2 separate regions of the Homo sapiens genome follow, and region 2 is linked to region 1. The links are contacts of gene promoters, found by promoter capture Hi-C in human tissues and cell types (Jung and others, 2019). All regions are on one chromosome and are shown on one strand. Each heading gives the region's core, a stretch centred on a gene start or on the middle of the fragment in contact. The rest is flanking DNA. Distances are from core to core; before and after follow the strand shown. Region 1 holds the start of SSR3 (signal sequence receptor subunit 3). Region 2 has its middle 88 kb from the start of KCNAB1.

The links. Contacts are between HindIII fragments. The study calls those that stand out against the background at their distance.
Region 2: a fragment that was not itself captured here is called in contact with the fragment with the promoter of SSR3 in region 1 in 1 of the 25 tissues and cell types used here (dorsolateral prefrontal cortex).

What each region holds. Positions count from the first base shown.
Region 1 is chr3:156,553,737-156,558,206 of GRCh38, reverse strand. It overlaps SSR3 (signal sequence receptor subunit 3), which reads left to right and starts at 3,090. Exons shown (of 5, transcript NM_007107.5): 1 at 3,090-3,250; 2 at 4,426-4,470. The coding sequence starts at 3,118. RefSeq lists an enhancer at 3,152-3,231. The HindIII fragment of the contact is 9,549 bases long and covers 1-4,470 here.
Region 2 is chr3:156,030,576-156,034,571 of GRCh38, reverse strand. It overlaps the pseudogene VN2R1P. Among named protein-coding and RNA genes, the nearest start is that of KCNAB1, 88 kb to the left of the region's middle. The HindIII fragment of the contact is 4,954 bases long and covers 1-3,996 here.

The DNA.
Region 1 (4,470 bases), core at 1,841-4,340:
TTATTATTTGGATACTTTCACAGGTTTTGCACAGTACTTTTCATGTAGTAGCTTCTCAATAAATATTTGCTGAATGAGTACATGAACTAATGAATTAGTCAAATATCAGTGGGTGAAATATGTAGTTTGGCTGAGTAAATAATTTTTCAGGTGATACTTTAAAACATTATACTTAGGGACTAATATAAGTGTTCCACCTCTTTTAAAATTATTCCCATCATGAGATTTGCATTTCAAGTAGGCTTTAAAACAGAGGAGCTTTTCTTTTTTCCTCCCCACAGTAGCCCTGGATGATCCATTTGTTATTCTTTAAAGGTCCCAGTGAAAAGCTAGCAGTGGCTTTCTATATTGGCTAGGCAACTTGCAGTGTCTGACACAGAAAAATATGTTAATTTTTAGCATACCAGATTTTCTTTCACAAAGTCATCAGTAATCTCTTATCCATATACCTGACAGCAAAAAATATTATTGCTTGGGGTTTTTCCTCCAATCTGAAAAGAATCAAGTGATATAATAGAAAATATACAAGAAAGCCTGAAATTCATAGAATAGACTCAGACTGCTATGGAATCAAGTCCATTTGGTTCCTTCAGAGTTAAGCTATGTTGAAATGGGCAAAATATATTGTAGATCTTTGCTTGGGTAGAATTTACTACCCACCTCTCCTTCTGTTTTTTAGCACATTGTGTACCCTGGTTGTCCAGTGTGCCACGGCTATGTGTGCCACGGCTATATATGCCACATACAAGTGATCCTTAGGTCTTGCTGCTTGCTTTTTAAAGGGAACTAGGTAGCTCTGGTGCAAGAAAACACTGCTTCAGTACTCCAAGTGTGCCACCTTCATAATTGTAATTGTTGCCATTACCAAAAATATTCTATCATAAGTATCATTCCCTATCATATTTCTCTAATTTACCCCCACAAAATAATTTGAAATTCATATTTTAGATTATCTTCTGTTTATAGTTACCTTTAGCTTTACAAAATGTATTAATTTTTTTCTGCTAGCTTTTTTTGATTATATCAATTGTAACATTTATATCCACTAAACATTTCAAACTTTTATCTTTCCTATTTTAATTGTTAAAATATTTTTCTCAGGCATAATTTTTTTAAATCTCATCCTTATCATTTCTTCTTTTCTTCTTTTAAAAGAAAGATGATTGTTGTCTCTTTGGATCTTTTAGTTTTCTGATTTTTTTTTTTTTTTTTTTTTGATGGAGTCTTGCTCTGTTGCCAGGCTGGAGTTGGAGTGTAGTGGCGCGATCTTGACTCACTGCAACCTCTGCCTCCCGGGTTTAAGTGATTCTCCTGCCTCAGCCTCCTGAGTAGCTGGGGACTACAGGCGTGCGCCACCATGCCTGGCTAATTTTTGTATTTTTAGTAAAAGCGAGGTTTCACCATGTTGGCCAGGATGGTCTCGGTCTCTTGACCTTGTGATCCACCCACCTTGGTCTCCCAAAGTGCTGGGATTACAGGCATAAGCCACCGCACCCAGCCTCTGATTTTTATCTTTTATCTTCTTTTTATATCCTTAGTTTGTTTATAAATAGGCAGAAGAAAATCTAGTTATAGAGACAGATCCAAAAAGTTTTATTTATGAATTGGTCATAGATGGAGAAGGAAAAAAATAATTAGTGTTGAAACCCACTATTTTAACCAGAACAACAAATGAGTTTAAAAGAATGCAACTTAGTGAGATAGGAAAAACTGGGGGAGGAGTATGTGTAAGAGAAAATAATAATTTCTTCTTCTATCACTACCATGTAATAAAATAAAGAGCATTTTTAACATCAAAAAAGACATAAACCCAGATATTTTTAAATGAATACTTTTGATTTTCTGAAAAATTCACTAGATGGTCTTTTTTTCTTTTTCATTTTGTGGTGAATTAATGAAAACTTCTGGCATTAAGGAACACTTGCGGTAGATAATGGAAGGATTTATATTTCAGGAAAACTCACTCTGGTACCTGTATAGAGAATAGACTGGAAAAGATTGAAGACAAAAGCCCAATTAGGACTAGTAATAGGAAGCTGTGGAGGTAGATTACAATTTGGATACTGTGAGGAAGAAAGATATCTACCAAACGGTTAATAAGGAGGCTGGAGGTTGAGGAAATTGTGCCTAATGCACTAGAGTGTTCTCAGTAATCAAAAGTAGCATTTGCTGGGAGTGATGTGGTTGAATTTTTTTTTGAAGAAAAAATGATAATGTGTTGAGTTAAAAATGGAATCTAGCTGTTTTAATAGACATACTTAATCCTTCTGAGCTTCAGAGAGGGAGTCTTGCCTAGCCAACCTGTTCTTAGTATTATGTTTTATTTAGCATGGCTTTGGAAGCCACAAAACTCTATAGGTCTAGTTGAAATAAAATAAAATAGTAGTAACTTGTATCAGACATATATTAAATATTGCCTTCATCAATGAGATCATGAGTTTCTTAAAAGCAAGAGTCCCATTTTCTTCTTCCTACAGAGGTGGCCTATTGTTTAGTGAAAAGAGCCCACGCCTTGGAGACCCACACCGCAGGTCTACGACCCTCAGGCTCTTCAGCTGCAATGGCGGTAATGATGCGCACGTCATAAGATTCTTCAAGGTATTTAATGAAATAAAGGATGTGTAAAGGAGAAGGGATTTTACATGAGTTAGCTATACCTTTCTCTTCTTTCTTCTTCAACGTACTCAGTCCTGGGTACGCACAGAGGGCACTAATGGCGTGGGGCCAGAAGAGCTTTTAATTTTGGAATTCTGAAGAACTGAGAACTCGTGAGTCTGTCAGCAGCTCTGAAGTGGAATATCAATAAAGTTTTGTTAATTTTTTTTAAAGCACCGACTAAACTACAAATCCCTTCTCTCTCCTCCAGGTGGGTGGGTCACGTGGCTTGTCAGGAATCCGGAAGTCTGGCCCGCTCGCCCAATCACGCCCGGAAGCCTATCTAGTGGCGCCAAGCTGGCCAATCCTGGGGACGCTTGCTCTTCGCCAAACCGGGTCCCGCCTCCGCGCGCCGCGCTGACGGGTCGTTAGCGGATACGGCGGCCGCAGGGGCGGAGTCAAGGGCCTTTGCCCGCCTTGGCGGCCGGCTCTACGTTCCCTGTTCTCGCCTGCAGCTCCGCCATGGCTCCTAAAGGCAGCTCCAAACAGCAGTCTGAGGAGGACCTGCTCCTGCAGGATTTCAGCCGCAATCTCTCGGCCAAGTCCTCCGCGCTCTTCTTCGGAAACGCGTTCATCGTGTCTGCCATCCCCATCTGTGAGTGCTGGGAGCGAGGCGGGTTAGGCAGGCCGCCGGCTAGTCGGGCTGGGCGGGGACGTGGCAGGACCCGGCGAGCAGGGAAGGCGTGGGTGCCGGCCGGGGGTCGGCAATCTCTCCAGCTCCCCTGAGCTCGGGGAGGCACGGAGCCTCTTCTTTGGGCACAGTGTTGTCGCTTGGGATTGTCCTGTGCAGCACTCGGGGAGGTCACTTGTTAAAAGTACGCACGTTCCCGAGCTCCACCCCAGGAGAAGGTGGTTAACTAGTTCTGGGGTGGCGGCCCCGAATCTCTATTTAAACAGACAAACTCAAGCATACTGCCTCTGCCCTTTTCTATACAACTGTTGCTTGCCGTTACGAAATTTTAAACTTATTACTTATTTTGCATAAATTAGTTAGGTGAGAAACCCATGAAGTGACCCACTGAATTATAAGTGCATCTTTACGTGAGCTACTTCACACCATTGCATAATTTTCCTGGTTTTTGCAAAAAGAGAGAGGTTGAAGTGCCAGGGGTTAGGGATCTACCTTATTTATACTTTTTAATAATCCTACTGGACCAATTCTAGAATTCTCACTTGGTTGGGAAACTGCAGACTTGGACAAGGTCGTTTTTAGTAGAGCTCAAGTTTCCAGAACTCCTGTCTTTTGCTGCACTGTTGTTGGGCATTTAAAACTAAATGTATTTTTCTCTTTTGTCCTTATACAACCCAGCGTGCCATTAACGTGATGTGAAGCCATATGATGGCTCACTAATTGGACATAGCACTGCTTGGAGTTCTGATAACAGCCACGTCAGCAAGGAAACTATGGTTTGGGGCTGCACGTGGCATTTTGGAATGGCCTGTGTTTCGCATGCTAGTACCCTGATGAATGAAATTTGAAGTCTGACTTGTGATTACGTTGAGCCAGAGTTTGTTCTCATTTTAGAAGTTGAAATCTCATCTGGACTAGTAATAGGAAGGTGATGTTTTTCAAATGTTCTGAACTGGAAAGCTTGAGACTATACTGTTACTGGTTATCTCGCTTCTGAAGATCCTCAGATACTATTGGATTGCATAACTAATAACCTGGTATTTTACCAGGCTTAGCTATAATTAATTTCGCAGGCTTTTGTTGCGGGGTTGTAATGTTTTGCTTCTTTTTGTACCCTTCCCCCTTTTATTTTAATTCAGGGTTATACTGGCGAATATGGCATATGGATCTTATTCAGTCTGCTG
Region 2 (3,996 bases), core at 855-3,354, 520 kb after region 1:
CTACTAAAAATACAAAAAAAATTAGCCGGGCGCGGTGGCGGGCGCCTGTAGTCCCAGCTACTCGGGAGGCTGAGGCAGGAGAATGGCGTGAACCCGGGAAGCGGAGCTTGCAGTGAGCCGAGATTGCGCCACTGCAGTCCGCAGTCCCGCCTGGGCGACAGAGCGAGACTCCGTCTCAAAAAAAAAAAAAAAAAGAAAAGAATTGCTATTGAGGGCCATTTGACAAAAGACAAGTACACTTTGTGTTATCTTTAACAGAAGGTAGAGATAAAAATAAACCTGCTCCAACATGTTTCACAAGACCGAGCACACTAAACCCAATTAAAATTCTGGTCATAAAGAGCAGCAATTTGGCAGGCCATAGTGAAGAATTCATAGAGCAGTAGTTACAGAAATCATATGTCTTACAAACTTTGAGTACTTATGACCTTAAGCCAATTGCCTTTAGAGATGAAATTTTAGATCTTATAACTCCAAATTAGAGCTAATTCAATAAAACATAGTACTATAAGTCCCCTGTCTTCCAATTATGAATATAACTAGCATTTAATTTATTTCAGAAACAAATAATTTTAAATATTTTTTATGAATCCTACTCATATTTCACATTTCATATATTTTATTTTGCATTTTCCTCTATTAACTTCAAGGTTGTAGGTATTTTCCCAACTGTAGCAGCTTTAGAACTGAAACACAATACTATGTTTTTTTCACAGTGCACAAAACATCCAATAATTTGATGGATTTTAATTATTTTTGTTATAAGTTATTCATACCTATTTATAAAGAAGGCTCCTTAGGCCTTCTTTGCAAAAACATGTTTGATCTAATAGCATCCTCATATCAATGAAGAAATTACCATCTCAACCTGGTTTCCGTGACACGTGTCCATCAGCACATGGGATGGAGTCAAAGCAGCATATTGGTTCCCTCTGAACGAATCCCCTTCCGAGTCCCAGGAGGACACACATCAGTACACACTGAATGGGGAAGCTAGCAAAGACAAACATGATGTATTAACAAAGCCCTTTGTCTCTAGTACTCATGAGGCTGAGAAAGTTTCCATTTGAATTTCCATGGAAGCTTTGCGATTTCCTGGGAAACCCAGGATGCCTGAGTGAAGATAATGAACAAAGAAAATAACAACATGGAGAACGTAGAGAAGAATTTTGCTAAAGGAGAGTCTCGGTGTTAAGTCTAGAAATGCAAAGCTAATTCTAAGCCTCTTCTTTCTAACCTTGGGGATCCAGACCAGGCTCCATGCCTACAGGACTCTGGGGATGAGATCATTTGACAGGTCTGTTCCTGCTTGTGAAGGACCTATGATTCCAAGAATCATCTTGAAAGCCTAAAAAATATTTTCCCTCTGCAAGGTCATCCCAAAGTAGTCTTAAAATCAAAGCTGTGTCATGAAGGGTCAGTAGAAAAGAACAGTGAAAGATCTGATTTATCAGAAAAATGGGGAGGGCAAAAGGAAAAGCAGACAAGGCATAGCATTGAAATATTTTCTTGCTAAACGAATTTCAAAATCTCAGTAGTAAACACAGGCCTCCTTTTACATTCTACATGGATGTGTACCTTGAAACCCAGAATAAATGCAAGGTTTGTAAATAGTTTGTTTCTTAATCCATTAGGGAGTTTCCTGTTTAAGAAACAAAATGCTTTTCCATTAAGCAAAGAATCATTTTGGAAGATGCATGATTACACTTATATTTATTTTAGAAATCAGAATTTTCATATGTTGAGTTTTCCAGAGTAAATCTGAATTAAATAACATAGAAAATATTACCAATCTCTGAGCTAGGTTATGGTACATAACATTACAGAAGTATGTATACACAATAGATAAGCTTCTTATATGTTTTATACATATGTATCTGTAAAATCATATTTTAAATGCACCTTAAGGAGTAGCTATTACAGGAAGGAGTGATAGCAAGGCATTCTCAAATTCTGAAAGATGAACAATAAAATCATCACAGAATGAACTAGAATTCCTTGCTCTGATCCAGTCTTCTGGAAAGAACTCTCGATATTACCTTATGATTACTATTATCATTTTTTTTTCCTCTGTTGCCCAGGCTGGAGTGCAGTGGCACCATCTCGGCTCACTGCAAGCTCCGCCTCCCGGGTTCATGCCATTCTCCTGCCTCAGCCTCCCGAGTAGCTGGGACTACAGGTGCCCACCACCACACCCAGCTAATTTTTTGTATTTTTAGTAGAAACGGGGTTTCACCGTGTTAGCCAAGATGGTCTCGAATTTCTGACCTTGTGATCCACCTGCCTCGGCCTCCCAAAGTGCTGGGATTACAGGCGCGAGCCACGGCACCTGGCCCATTAGTATCATTAACAATGAGCTGATACCTTTTTGTTCCATTTCTCAGTATTCCTTCCCTTCTCAACCTCTGTGATCTAGCTGCCAACTCACTCACCTCACTAAAACTCTTCTTGCCATGTCTGAGAGATTTTCCTCTGGCCACATTTTCCTTCAGCTTTCTTCAATACTTGACACTTTTGATCAGCCCCTCTTTGAAACGCAAGCTACCTTGGCTTCCCTTGGGTCCTGGGTTTGGTCCTTGGTCCTCTGGTTTTCTCTCTTACTGTAAAGCAGGTCCTTCATTCTCTTGTCTTCAACCAGTATCTCTATAGAAGTACTCCCAAATTTTGATCTCTAACACCAACCTTTCCCACCTGATCTCTATTTAATTCCATATTCTAAACTTCCCATATGTTCCTACATTAAGATTCCACCATCACCTCAAGTTCAACACGTACAAAACTATCCCATAAACCCTATTCCTCATTTCTGTCATCAACACCACCATTCCTATCCATCATCTCCAACCTGATATTACTTGCCTGTATGGACCCTCTCTTCCACTCAAGTCCACCTTCTCACCAACCACCAGACTCAGTTTACCATTATGACTTAAATCATTATTTGTATTGTCCTCTAATTGTTTCATGTAACACTTCCAGGTCCAATCCGTCAGCAGATTTGATGTCTTCTACCTATAAGATATCCATAAGATATCCAGAATCTAATGACTTTTTGCCACCTCCATCACATCTATCCTGGGCCAAGCTACCTTCATTATTTTGGATGATTTTATGGTCTTTTAACAGTCTCCTTGGTTCTGTTCTTGCCCCTCCACCCCACTCCTTCCACTGATTTGCAGTATGGCAAACAATGATACCTGAGTCAGATCATGGCCCTCCTCTGTCAAGATTTTCAGGGTTTCCCTTCTCACTCAGTGTGAAAACCAAAGTCCTTCAAAAGCCAACAGGGCCCTGCATGATCTGTCCCTCTCTAACCTCTCTCACCTCCTTTCCTGCTCTCCCTCTCTTTCACTCTTTCCAGCCACATTGACTTCTTTTCTGTTCCTCCAAAGTGCCAGCCACACGCGCCTCAGGGTTTAGAAGGTGCTGTTCCCTGTGCTGGAAATATTCTTCCCCTAGATAATGCATGAACACACTTTCATTTGAATTTCTGTTCAAATGTCACTCTAGCGAGGCCTTCCCTGACTACGCTATATGGAATTTCAGTGCAACACTCCCACAGCACTCCCTATCTCAGTCCTGCTATTTGTTTCTCCCTGACATTAACATCCTTTAAGATACAGTATAATGTCTCTATTTGTCTTGTTTGTTGCCTACTTCCTTCCATTGAAATGTTAATCCCATTAGGCTGGGATTTGTTCTGTTTTGCACACTGACGTATCCGCAGTTCCTATGCACATATGCTACTGTTCTCAACAAATATTTGCTCAGTTAATTAGGGGCAGTGGCCTTATTTTTGCAATGTTTAACCCAGAGTTGGATTTATAGTAGATGCTTAGTAAATTTGTATTGAATTACATTTGAAGCAATTTCATTATACAAACAATCCCAATTTTATAGTAAAAGATAAGAAAAATAAATTACTATACCCTAATGAAGATTATTAAAAGAAAAATCTACTATTAGATTTTACTATTTTTCTGTCAATTTTCAGTA